Linked DNA regions of Homo sapiens: region 1 is linked to region 2. The links are contacts of gene promoters, found by promoter capture Hi-C in blood cells and fetal thymus (Javierre and others, 2016). All regions are on one chromosome and are shown on one strand. Each heading gives the region's core, a stretch centred on a gene start or on the middle of the fragment in contact. The rest is flanking DNA. Distances are from core to core; before and after follow the strand shown. Region 1 holds the start of CYP20A1 (cytochrome P450 family 20 subfamily A member 1). Region 2 holds the start of KCTD18 (potassium channel tetramerization domain containing 18).

Region 1 (5,826 bases), core at 1,467-3,966, 2.7 Mb before region 2:
ATGATGGTACCACTGCACTGTAGCCTGGGCAAGAGTGAGACTCTGTCTCTTAAATGAAACAAAACAAAAAATAAAGATTACCAATGTTATCAAATTATTAGGCCTTAACTTAAAATATCTGCAGCATTTGACTTAGCTGATTATCCTCTTCTGCTTAAAACATCTGGCTTCCTTCTATTTGTGTGGCTGCTCCTTCTCAGTCTCCTTTGCTGGCTCTTCTTTCTCTCCTCAACCATTAACATTGGAGAATCCAGGGAATGGTCCCTGGGACCTCTTCTCTCCTGTATCTAAATTGTCTGGGAGATAGCAACCAGTTCTCCTCGCTTTAAATACCATCTATACATTGATAGCTCCCAAATGTGTATCTTCAGCCTGGACTTTTCCCATAAACTCAAGACATATATTCAGTTACTCCTCAACATCTCCACTTGAATGTCTAACAGGCATCTCAAACCTAGCCCACCCAAAACCAACTCCTAATCTCTATAAATCCCCACTACCTCCCACCAAAACAAAACTAAAGAACAACCACCACCAGCAAAACCCCTGATCTTCCCTGGAATTAATCTATCCTTCCAGATACCAGGCTAAAAATAACTGGTGTTTTCCTTGATGCCTCTCTTTCACATTTCACATCCAATCCACTGGGAAATCCCATTGGCACTATCTTCACAATTGACTAGTTCTCATTATCTGTGCCACTACTACCATGATCCAAGCTGAAATGATAATATCCTCCTAATTACTTGGCTTGCTTCCATCCTTACCTGGAGACCCATGTCAATTCATGACTTAGCAACCACAATGATTCTTTTAAAATTTATCTAATAAAATTAAATTTGAATTCTATCCAATTTCAAATGGCATTCATCTGCTGAAATCCTCCAGTGGCACACAGCAAAAGTCCATTAAAAAAGCCTTACAAGTCATTTAAAATTTGTCCTTCACTCCCATCTTTCTGACTTTCTCTCCTCTGGTATCTTCCTCATTTACTACACTCTAACCACACTGGTCCCCTTGCTTTCCAGGAACACACCAGGCGTGTCTCCCTCTGAAGGTTTGCATTTGCTGCTCCCTCGACCCAGAATGCTCTTTCTCAGAATGGCTTGCACCTTCACCTTCTTCGCGTTTCTACTCAAATGTCTCCGTATCTCCTGGCCATCCTACTTTAAAATAACAATCTACCTATCCCCAACTTTATTTCTACCCACAATCCTATGTTATTTGTTTCTATTGTCTGTTCCCCTTCTCTAGGAAATAAATTCCAAGAGTCAGGAATTTTCTGTCCGGTTTGTTTCACGGCTGGATTCCCAGCACGTGGAACCATATCTGGCACATAGCTAGTGCTAAGAATAAACAGTGTGCTTCTATGAGCTGATCAAAGAAGAGTATCATTTTAAAATCACCAAAAATTCAAGAACCACTAAAATTGTTTAGTTTCTCAGAAAATAAGATTTCAGGAAGTCCCTGATTGTGTAGTTGCAAGATTCTAGTCTAATCCATTTACCTGCTCGGAAAAGAACATTTAAGAAGGTGTATGGTCAATTCCAGCAGTTCAGCTACTTTTCAACTTTCACTGTAAAACCACCACCTTGCTTTGTAGAACAGGTGTTTTTTGTTTGTTTGTTTGTTTGTTTTGAGATAAGAGTCTGGCTCTGTCGCCAGGCTGCAGTGCAGTGGTGCGATCTTGGCTCACTGCAAGCTCCGCCTCCCAGGTTCAAGCGATTCTCCTGCCTCAGCCTCCTGAGTAGCTGGGATTACAGGCGCCCGCCACCACAGCCAGCTAATGTTTGTATTTTTAGTAGAGACGGTGTGTCACCATGTTGGCCAGGATGGTCTCGATATCCTGACCTCGTGATCCGCCCGCCTCAGCCTCCCAAAGTGTGTAGAACAGGTTTTAAAGACGGTCCTCAGTCATCAACACTTTTGTTTTCAGACCCTCCCTCTCTCGCTGACGGAGGCAAGTGGAGAGAGGAGGACCGGAGGCTCGCAGAGGCGTCAGCGGCAGAGGAAACCTCGCACCCGAACCCGCAGCGCGGCGCTCTCCCCAAAGAAGCATTTGCCTGGAGCCCCTAAGAGGAGCAAGACCTGGACCTCGAGCACTTTGGATTCCAGTCAGGATAGATCGATGGACAGATGGAAAAGAGGAATACACAAGTGCTGGGAGAATCCTCAAGAAAGGAGAAAGGAGTGGCGCGCCCAGGAGTCTCGTCCTGACACACTGGGAAATGAAATTTGGGTTTGGCGAGTTATGGCCAAAAAGCTGCCCAAAGTACTTGAGAGCCGCCTTGGAGAGTGGCGCGGGGTGCCTGGCAAGGTGAGACCGGCCTGCGGGGGCGCGGGCTTTTCCTCAGCAGCTCTACGCCCGCCTGGCCCGGCGCCTGAGGGGTAGCGACGCAGCCCACGTCGCTCTCAGAGCTTGCCGGGAGGGGCGTCACGTGACTCCGGGTGCGGTCCCCGCGCTGAAGCTCTGGAGCGAACCCGAACCCTCCTCTCAGGCCCGCCCCCTGCGGCCCGCAGCGGGCAGGTTGGCCTGGATGCCGGCGACAGAGAGACTGGGGCGGCGCCCGGGGCCCCAGAGAGCCAAGACGGCGCTCACCGGATAGAGGTAGAGCACGGCTCCCACCAACGCCAGCAAGAAGGTAACGGCGAAGATCGCGAAGTCCAACATGGTTCTGCCGCCCAGGGAGCCACGTCTCGGATCGGCCGCTCCAGCAGCAGCGCCTCAGCCTGGCCCAATTTAAGGCATAGCGTGTGGGCGGGGGCACCCCGCGGGACCCGGAAACCAACGGGCCGCTGGGGGCGTGACCGAGGCCTGCGGCCGGCGCCAGAGGAAAGAGCAATGGATCGCCGAGGAGCCGGGGCGCGGGTTCCTGAGCGCAGCAGGCCGAGGCTGAGGCCGCCTAGCGCCAGCCTCCACCGCAAGGCGGGGATTTCGGTGCACACGATTTCAGACAGAATATGCCCGCGACTTCGGACCGGGTTGCTGGCGAAAGCAGAGCCCAGCTTTCTGAGAAAAGTTAGGAGTTAGTAGTGCTCTGTCCGCCCAACAGTTTTCGCAATGGATTCAGAATTAAAACCTCTAAACCGATGATTTTCGAAGAGTGGTCCCGGTACCAGCTGCATCAACGTCGCCCGGGAGCTCGTTAGAGATTCAGATTATCGATGCCGGGCGCGGTGGCTCCACCTGTAATCCCAGCACCTTGGGAGGCTGAAGCGGGAGGATCGCTTGAGCCCAGGAGTTTGAGACCAGCGTGGGCAACATAGTGAGACCCCAGTCTCTACAAAAAAAAAAAAAAAAAAAAAAAAAAAATTAGCCTACAGTGGTGGCGCTTGCCTGTGGCCCCAGCTGCTCCGGAGGCTGAGGCTGGAGGATCACTTTAGCCGGGGAGGCAGAGGCTACAGTGAGCCGAGATGGCACGACTGCACTCCAGCCTGGGCGACAGGGCGAGACCCTGTCTCAAAAACAAAACAAAACAAAACAAAAGGAAAACAAAATAAAAAGATTCTCGATCCCAAACTAGACCTACTGAATCAAACACTCGGGGTGGGCAGGGGTAGGGGGCGCGTACAACAATCTGTTTGAACAGAGCCCTCCCGGGGACACTGTTACACACTTAAATTTGAGTGAAAACCACCACTGATCTAAGCGGGACAGGGAAGTGTCTGGGAGTAAAACAAGAGTAGATACGCCTTGTTTCGCAGAATTTCTGTCTGAAGTACTAGTAAATGTGATTCTTTGACACTTTCTGGTGAGCGGAGGCTGCACACTGTTCAGGTTTCCTTGCTCTGTTAACTCTGACTTTCGGTAAATTGCTTCAGTTTTCTAAGCTTCCATTTCCTTCTATGTAAAAAAGTGAAAATAATACCACATGGAGTTGCCTGTAGGTTAAATTACATATTTTATGAAAATCACTTAGCACAGCTCCTGGCAAAACCGAATAAGTGCTATCTACGTCAGCATTTGGCGTTTGTTGCCCTGGGCATAAAATACCCTAGGACCCCTCTTTCTATTTCGCCTGGCTCAGAAGTTTTGACGTGGCTACTGAAATACAAGACAAGGCCTGCTACTTACTAGTGCTGCTTTTAGTGAAAGTGTGCTAAAAGTATTTATAGATTTTATAGCTTTAATAATATAAAATGTCAAGAACAGGCAGCAATTTGGCAAGAGAAATTCCAGATTGCATTTTACAGCTTCTATGATAAATGACTGTTACATAAGCAGGAAACATACCTCATTGAAAATGGCAACTCTTTTGGCATCTATAGCAAATATAATGAAACATGCTGTTTAATATTTCACTTGGCAGAAATTGTATTTTTAAGTCTTTCTCTGCATATAAATGTGCTTTAAACTGTCGTATGTTCAAAGTTCATTTTTAAGTCTCTTGTTCAGAATTTTAAAGATATTTCTTGTCAAACTGATGTTCCCAATAGGTTTTCAAAACAGTAAATGTAAGAGTTTTTTGTTTGTTTGTTTTGTTTGTTTGTTTTTGAGACGTAGTCTCCCTCTGTAGCCCAGGCTAGAGTGCAGTGACGGGATCTCGGCTCACTGCAACCTCCGCCTCCCAGGTTCAAGCAATTCTCCTGCCTCACCCTCCCGAGTAGCTGGGATTACAGGCACGCGCCACCATGCCCAGCTAATTTTTGTATTTTTAGTAGAGATGGGTTTCACCATGTTGGCCAGGCTGGTCTTTAACTCCTGACCTCGTGATTCGCCCCTCTGGGCCTCCCAAAGTGCTGAGATTACAAGCGTGAACCACCCCGCCCGGCCAAACATAAGAGTTTTAACTGCATAAGGTAGCCATATAACCGTAATCTTAGGTACCGTAATCTTAGGTACCAATCCTTCAAGATATCTAGAATTCTCTTTTAGTCCTAAATTGACCTACATCCTGAGACTCTCTGAACTTTGAGGGCTGTAAAAAAGAGACAAAAATTCCAGAAATTGTCAGGGCACCATATTTTATAGTGTGAGTCTCTAAACTAGACATCTACCTCCTCTTCCTGTGTTCCTAAAACGTTTTGCCCAGATACTCCCTAAAAGCATATATAAATAATATATATATAATATATATATACACATACACACATATATATCTTTTCACACATTTTTTGTATTGACATCTAAAATTTTTATCTTGACTTTAAAGGATTAAATTTCTGTCATATTATAAATATTCACGTTTTGAAATTGTTACAGCTCTCTTTTAAGTGTATGAAAAGGAATGTAAATATAATAGTGATGTGATAACTATAAGACTTTTTTTAAAAACACACAAACTTGGCCAGGTACGGTGGCTCCACCTGTATTCCCAGCACTTTGGGAGGCGGAGGCGGTCAGATCACTTGAGGTCAGGACTTCAAGATCAGCCTGGTCAACATGGGGAAACCCCGCCTCTACTAAAATTACAAAAATTAGCTGGGTGTGGTGGCATGCGCCTGTAATCCCAGCTTCTCAGGAGGCTGAGGCAGGAGAATCACTTGAACCCGGGAGGCAGAAGTTGCAGTGAGCCAAAATGGCGCCACTGCACTCCAGCCTGGACAAAAACAAAACCCAAAACAAAACAAAACAAAACAAAAAACCCATACACTTTTTGTGAACAACTGGAAATTTTCCATGGTTCCTTTTTCTGAACTTATTTTTATTGCACTTATCCGACAGAATTTTATTCTAATGAAATTATTTTTATCCTTGAAAGTAATTTTCTTCATCACCTGTCATACTTCTTCTCTTCAACATGTACTCATGTTGAATTAAAAAATAGTTTTTGGGGCCAGGCGTGGTGGCTCATGCCTGTAATCTCAGCACTTTGGGAGGCCGAG
Region 2 (5,203 bases), core at 1,377-3,876:
GTTGTCTCTTCTCATTTATCTGCCCTTTCTGCAGATGGTTTCATTCACTCTCATAGCTTTAAATGCTTATGCTTTCCAAATATCCACCTTCAACACAGAATTTTACCCCTGAGCTCCAGATTTATTCAATTGCTAATTGATCTCTCTACCTGAATGTCTGAAAAGCATCTGAATCTTAGTAGTCCAAAACACAGCTTCTGATTTCTTCCCTCAAACCTATTCCTCTCCCATAATTCACTGACTCGGTAAACTCACTATTATCCCATTGTTCAAATTAACAATTTAGAGATATTCCTACATTTTTCCCTTTCCCTTAAATCCCATATATTGCAGCCATGAAAATGCACTTCTCAGATCTCCAATTGCAGGGAGCATTGTTGACTGATGCCTCAGCTGCTGTCCTTTGAAATTTATCACCAGGCTGCACTGCCCACTGACTGCTCCCAGCCAGTGACTGAGCAGAGGGATTTAAGGCAGGCCCATTCCTGGGAGACACAGAACTCTTCTGATATGGGGGACTTTGGCTTGAAGGCTTTCCACTGGCTGTGCTGAAACTTTCTCAGAACTGTATCATATCTACAACTTTTCCTACTTTTCCTTTCCTGTTCTCCACAAGGGTTGAAACTGTCTAATGTCTTTCCTAATTCCCCTCAGATGCTTCCCTGTTATTACCTCACAGGTGTTCCCTTCAATAAATCTCTCACATGTCTAATCTGATAATATTGTTTGCTTCTCAGGGGATCCATATTAACACATTGTATTTGATCCACCAACAAATTTTATGTCATGTCTATCTCCTGAGTACCCCTCTTGCATCCATCCACTTCTCTTTATTGCCAACACTACTCAAGGAGGAACTAAGACATTTCTCCCCTGGATTATTGCAATAGTCATCTACTTCCATCTCACACCTTTCCAATCCATTCTCATCTCAGTAGCTGCAGTGATTATTTTTTTTTAATAGTAAATCAATTGTGTCACTTCCCTGCTTAAAACCTTTCAATAGCTTCTCATTATGCTTACAGTCAAATTAAATTTCTACCATGGCCACACAATACTTTAGAGTCTGGGCTCTTGCCTCTCTCTTCAACCTCATCCCATCTCATCTTCCCCTTTGTCCTGATGCCCACCAAGGCTCAGACATACTAGTGGCCTTTCTCTTCCTACAAATTGCTGAGTCCTTTCCTGCCTGAGGGGCTTCCGACTTGCTCTCCCTTCTTCCTAAAATACCCTTCCTCCATCTCTGCAGAAGGTGGACTCATTCTGACTCCTAGCCCTCAACTTAAATGTCCACTCATTTCCTCGCACCTAGTTATCACTCTCTGTCACCACTTTGCTTAGTGTCTGTTTCTCCCACTTGAACAAGGGCAGGCAAACTATGGCCCATGGACCACCATTTGTTTTTGTCTGGCCCATGATCTAAGAATGGCTTGTACATATTTAAGTGTTTGAAAAAGCTGCATTTTTAAAAGAATATTTTTTGACACATGAAAATTATGTGAAATTGGAATTTCAGTGTCCATAAAGTTGGAACTAGCAATGCTCATTTGTTCAGGTTTTGCCTATGCCTTCTTTTAGACTACAACTGCTGAGTTGAGTAGTTGTGCATGGCCCACAAAGCCTAAAATATTTACAGAACAAGTTTTCTGCATGTTGTACTGGAAAGTAAGGTTGAACGCCCATTATTTGTCTCTTCCAGTCCTTTACTCTCAGTGCTTGCTCCATAGCTAGTGCTTAATAATTACAGGTTGAACAAACCTTCCCTCTCTCCTAAGACTGTTAATATCTAAGGGGATAGGTTGACTTACCTCTCTTTGGCTTATTCTCTTCTAAGAGCCAGTCAGGGAAATTTGGAACCAAATATTTTTGATTTTGGGGAAGCACCTTGAAAACAGGACTGTTATATTTCTCTTGAAATATCTAGCACAGTACCTTGCACAAGGTAAGATGGTGCTAGAAACTGGAAGAACTGTTTTAGGGTTATCGTTAACAGGAAATTAAGTAGTGCATGCAAAGCACTTAGCACAGTGTCAGGTGTACAAAAGTGTTGAATAAATGTTTGCTCTCGCCTCAATTTTCCTTGCTATAATGGGAAATAAATATCACCCTTTATATCACTGTCACACAGACTAAACAAGAATGCTGTGTGTGAAAAAGCTTTGTAAGCTGCAGACACTATCCAGATAGACTTATCCAAGTGCAATATATTAACACACGTTGGCACTGAGCAGCCCTGTTTGGAGGGATGGGCACTGACCTGGGGGTGAGAACACTTAACATCCTAATTCTTGCCACTTATTAAGTGACCTTGGACAATCGCAACTTCTGCGGCTGTTTCTTCTCTTCACCTGTAAAACCAGCCTCTGAACACACAAGACCGTCCCTTGGGGTTCAGCCCTGGCCTTCTCTACCGTGTGTTTCCCTTACCTCCGGGATGGAAGACCCACCCGACTCCGAGGCGGCCCACTGGGGCGAGACGAATCTGGGGGCGGGGCGTGGCGTGGCGTGGCGTGCCCGGGACGTGGCCTCCCTCCCTCCCTGAGCCGCTGCCTCAGAGCCGGGCCGCACGGGGGCGCCGCTGGGGCCGCTCTGCTCCCGAGTTGCCGAGCAGCTGAGAAGGCGTTCACTTCCGCGTCCGCCCCGCGGCGTCCGGCGGCCGCGCCGAGGGTCTGGCGGGCCGCAGGTCAGTCTGGGAAGCTGCCGACCCGCCCCACCCCCCCGGTGCGGAAGAGCCGGGCGCGGGATGGGCCGCGGGCCCGGAAGGCGGCGGGGCGCCCTGAGGAAGGGCACGGGCCGCGCTGGTAACGCGCGCGCCCCGGGCTGCAGGCTCGGGCTTCGGGCCGATTTGGGGTCTCCAGGCCGCGGAAGACCGTGGCGGGGCTTTCTGGCTCCCCAGCTCCTCCCGGCTCTTCCCGCTTCGGAAGAGGAGTGTGAGCCCCTTGAGCGATGTTTTTCAAAGTGGGGTTCGCGGGCAGATCCCGACCCCTCCTCAGACTTTCTGAGGAACTGTGTGCTGTGGCCGGAGTGTCTTCGTTTTCCCAAGCGTCCCTGATGGTTTTGATGCAGGTGATCATAGGAATGCACTCTGGGGGACATTGTCCCCGAGGGCTGGACACTTTCCACATAGCAGGGAGCCTAACTGGGTGCTTTTGAGGATGGGGCCTGCGGAGTGCCCCCCTGGTGTGGCCTTGGAATGATGATGTTCCTATCCTTAGGAGAGACTGCCTGGGGTTGGGGTAGGAGGAGTAGCTCTTAAATCCTCGGGATCGGGGTGCTGCTGTGTTATCGTAGCCAAGTCTTGAGATGGACAGATGCTTAGAGAGTGAAAGGGCTGGGTCAGGATCCATAGGGGTGAAACAGTGCTGGAGGAGGCGGTGTGGGGTGAAGCAGGAAGAACTTGGGGTTCGTCCTGCCGTTCTGGATTGGGGCTGGCTCCACAACCTACTAGCAGTCAGTCCTTGTGTGGCCCCTGTACACATCACTCTTTTTTTTTACCCCAATGGCCTCATCTGTCAACAGGGACAGTAATTCCCATCCAATAGAGTTTTTGTGTGAATTAGGTAAAGTGTGTCAAGTGTCTCTTACAATGGCTGGCACATAATAAGCATTCAGTAAATGGGAGTTATTAAGAGTGACACAGGCCCTGGCTTCCTTGGCCTACAGACCAAAAAGTAGGGATTAAACAAGTGGGGTAAAAAGTGGACAGACACACAGTATATTTGTAGAATTGTGCAAGGATTCTAACTTGGGGGGCAGAAGGATACGTGGGACGGTCATGCAAGAAATTAGGTTTGCTGAAGGCCTTGAAGAATAGATAGGATTCCAGGGAGCCAGTAATGAGGCAGAGGGAACAAGTTCCATCCCATGCCTCAGAGGTGGCTCTCACACATGGATCTTTGGAGTGCTGCTCCCAGGACTTCTAGGCAGTGCGAGATGTCACATCCATAAGTGGTTTTGGAAGGCTGGACCTTTGGCCCATAATGGTTTCTGTTGCTGACCGTATTCTACACACATGGTCTTCCTCAGATTTTAATGGTCTCCTTCCATTTTATTGGAGACTAGCTGGCATCTACAAAACGATCTTAGTTGTTCACTGAGTAAAAGTGAATTGACATGGATGTAGTTGAGCCTTTTGGCAGCCATTTTCAACTTGCTATGAAATGTGTGGATACTGCAGATTCTCAATAATTGGGAGTACCTTTTTCATCACAGTATTGTTTTAGGTGGGAAAACACCACAGTGTCACTTGTGGTTCTGTGATCTCCAGAATGGATTAAAAAAATCCAACCCTTAAACCTTCCCTGGGCCTGGTGCAGTGGCTCACGCCTGTAATCTCAGCACTTTGGGAGGCCGAGGTGGGTGGATCACCTGAGGTCAGGAGTTGGAGACCAGACTGCCCAATATGGTGAAACGCCGTCTCTACTAAAATTACAAGAATTAGCCCGGCATGATGGTGTATACCTGTGGTCCCAGCTACTCAGGAGGCTGAGGCAGGAGAATTGCTTGAACCCGGGAGTGAGCCGAGATGGCGCCACTGTACTCCACCCTGGGCTACAGAGCGAGACTCCATCTCAAAAAACAAACAAGCAAACAAACAAAAACCCCCCAAAACTTCCCTAAAGCTTCATCCATTTCACAGTGAAGAAGCTGGATGATTTGGAGGTGTTATTTGTAGTTCTAGACTGGCCTGGCTACTGGTCTACATAGAATTCTGATCTCAGGCTGGGCGTGGTGGCTCATGCCTGTATACTCAGCACTTCGGAAGGCCAAGACAGGAGGATTGCTTGAGCCCAGGAGTTCAAGACTAGCCTGGGCAACACAGCGAGACCCTGTCTCATTTTTTAAAAATTTAAAAAAATTAAAAGAAGAATTATAATCTCAGTTGATAAATTATATATTCCTTAGTTACCTAACTTAAGAATTATAGTTATCATTGTTAATAATTCCTGCTCCTTTATTTCCTTACATTTCCAGAGTCAATATCAAGTCCCTCAGTAGACACCTTATGGTTAAATTTATATCATTATGCATAATATTTATAATTTATTGAATAGTTACCATGAGCTAGATTCTGCTCTTTTGCTGTTTTATATATTCTTTTAATTATTCCTCTTATAGTCCTTTGAGCTGGGCATCATCACTGCCTCCATTTTATGGAAGAGGAAGATAAGTAATTTGCCCAAGATCCTAGAGCTGGTGAGGG

Evidence for each region. The method cuts DNA at HindIII sites, captures the fragments that hold promoters and counts their contacts. A CHiCAGO score of 5 or more calls a contact.
Region 1: the fragment with the promoter of CYP20A1 here is called in contact with the fragment with the promoter of KCTD18 in region 2 in 2 of 17 cell types (naive B cells and total B cells); the score reaches 7.2 in naive B cells.

What each region holds. Positions count from the first base shown.
Region 1 is chr2:203,235,908-203,241,733 of GRCh38, reverse strand. CYP20A1 (cytochrome P450 family 20 subfamily A member 1) reads right to left here and starts at 2,716. Exons shown (of 13, transcript NM_177538.3): 1 at 2,600-2,716. The coding sequence starts at 2,671. RefSeq lists enhancers at 1,996-2,285, 2,109-2,680, 2,966-3,015 and a silencer at 2,686-2,895. The HindIII fragment of the contact is 4,599 bases long and covers 1-3,833 here.
Region 2 is chr2:200,507,491-200,512,693 of GRCh38, reverse strand. It overlaps KCTD18 (potassium channel tetramerization domain containing 18), which reads left to right and starts at 2,626. Exons shown (of 7, transcript NM_152387.4): 1 at 2,626-3,066. RefSeq lists a silencer at 2,394-2,853. The HindIII fragment of the contact is 2,465 bases long and covers 2,160-4,624 here.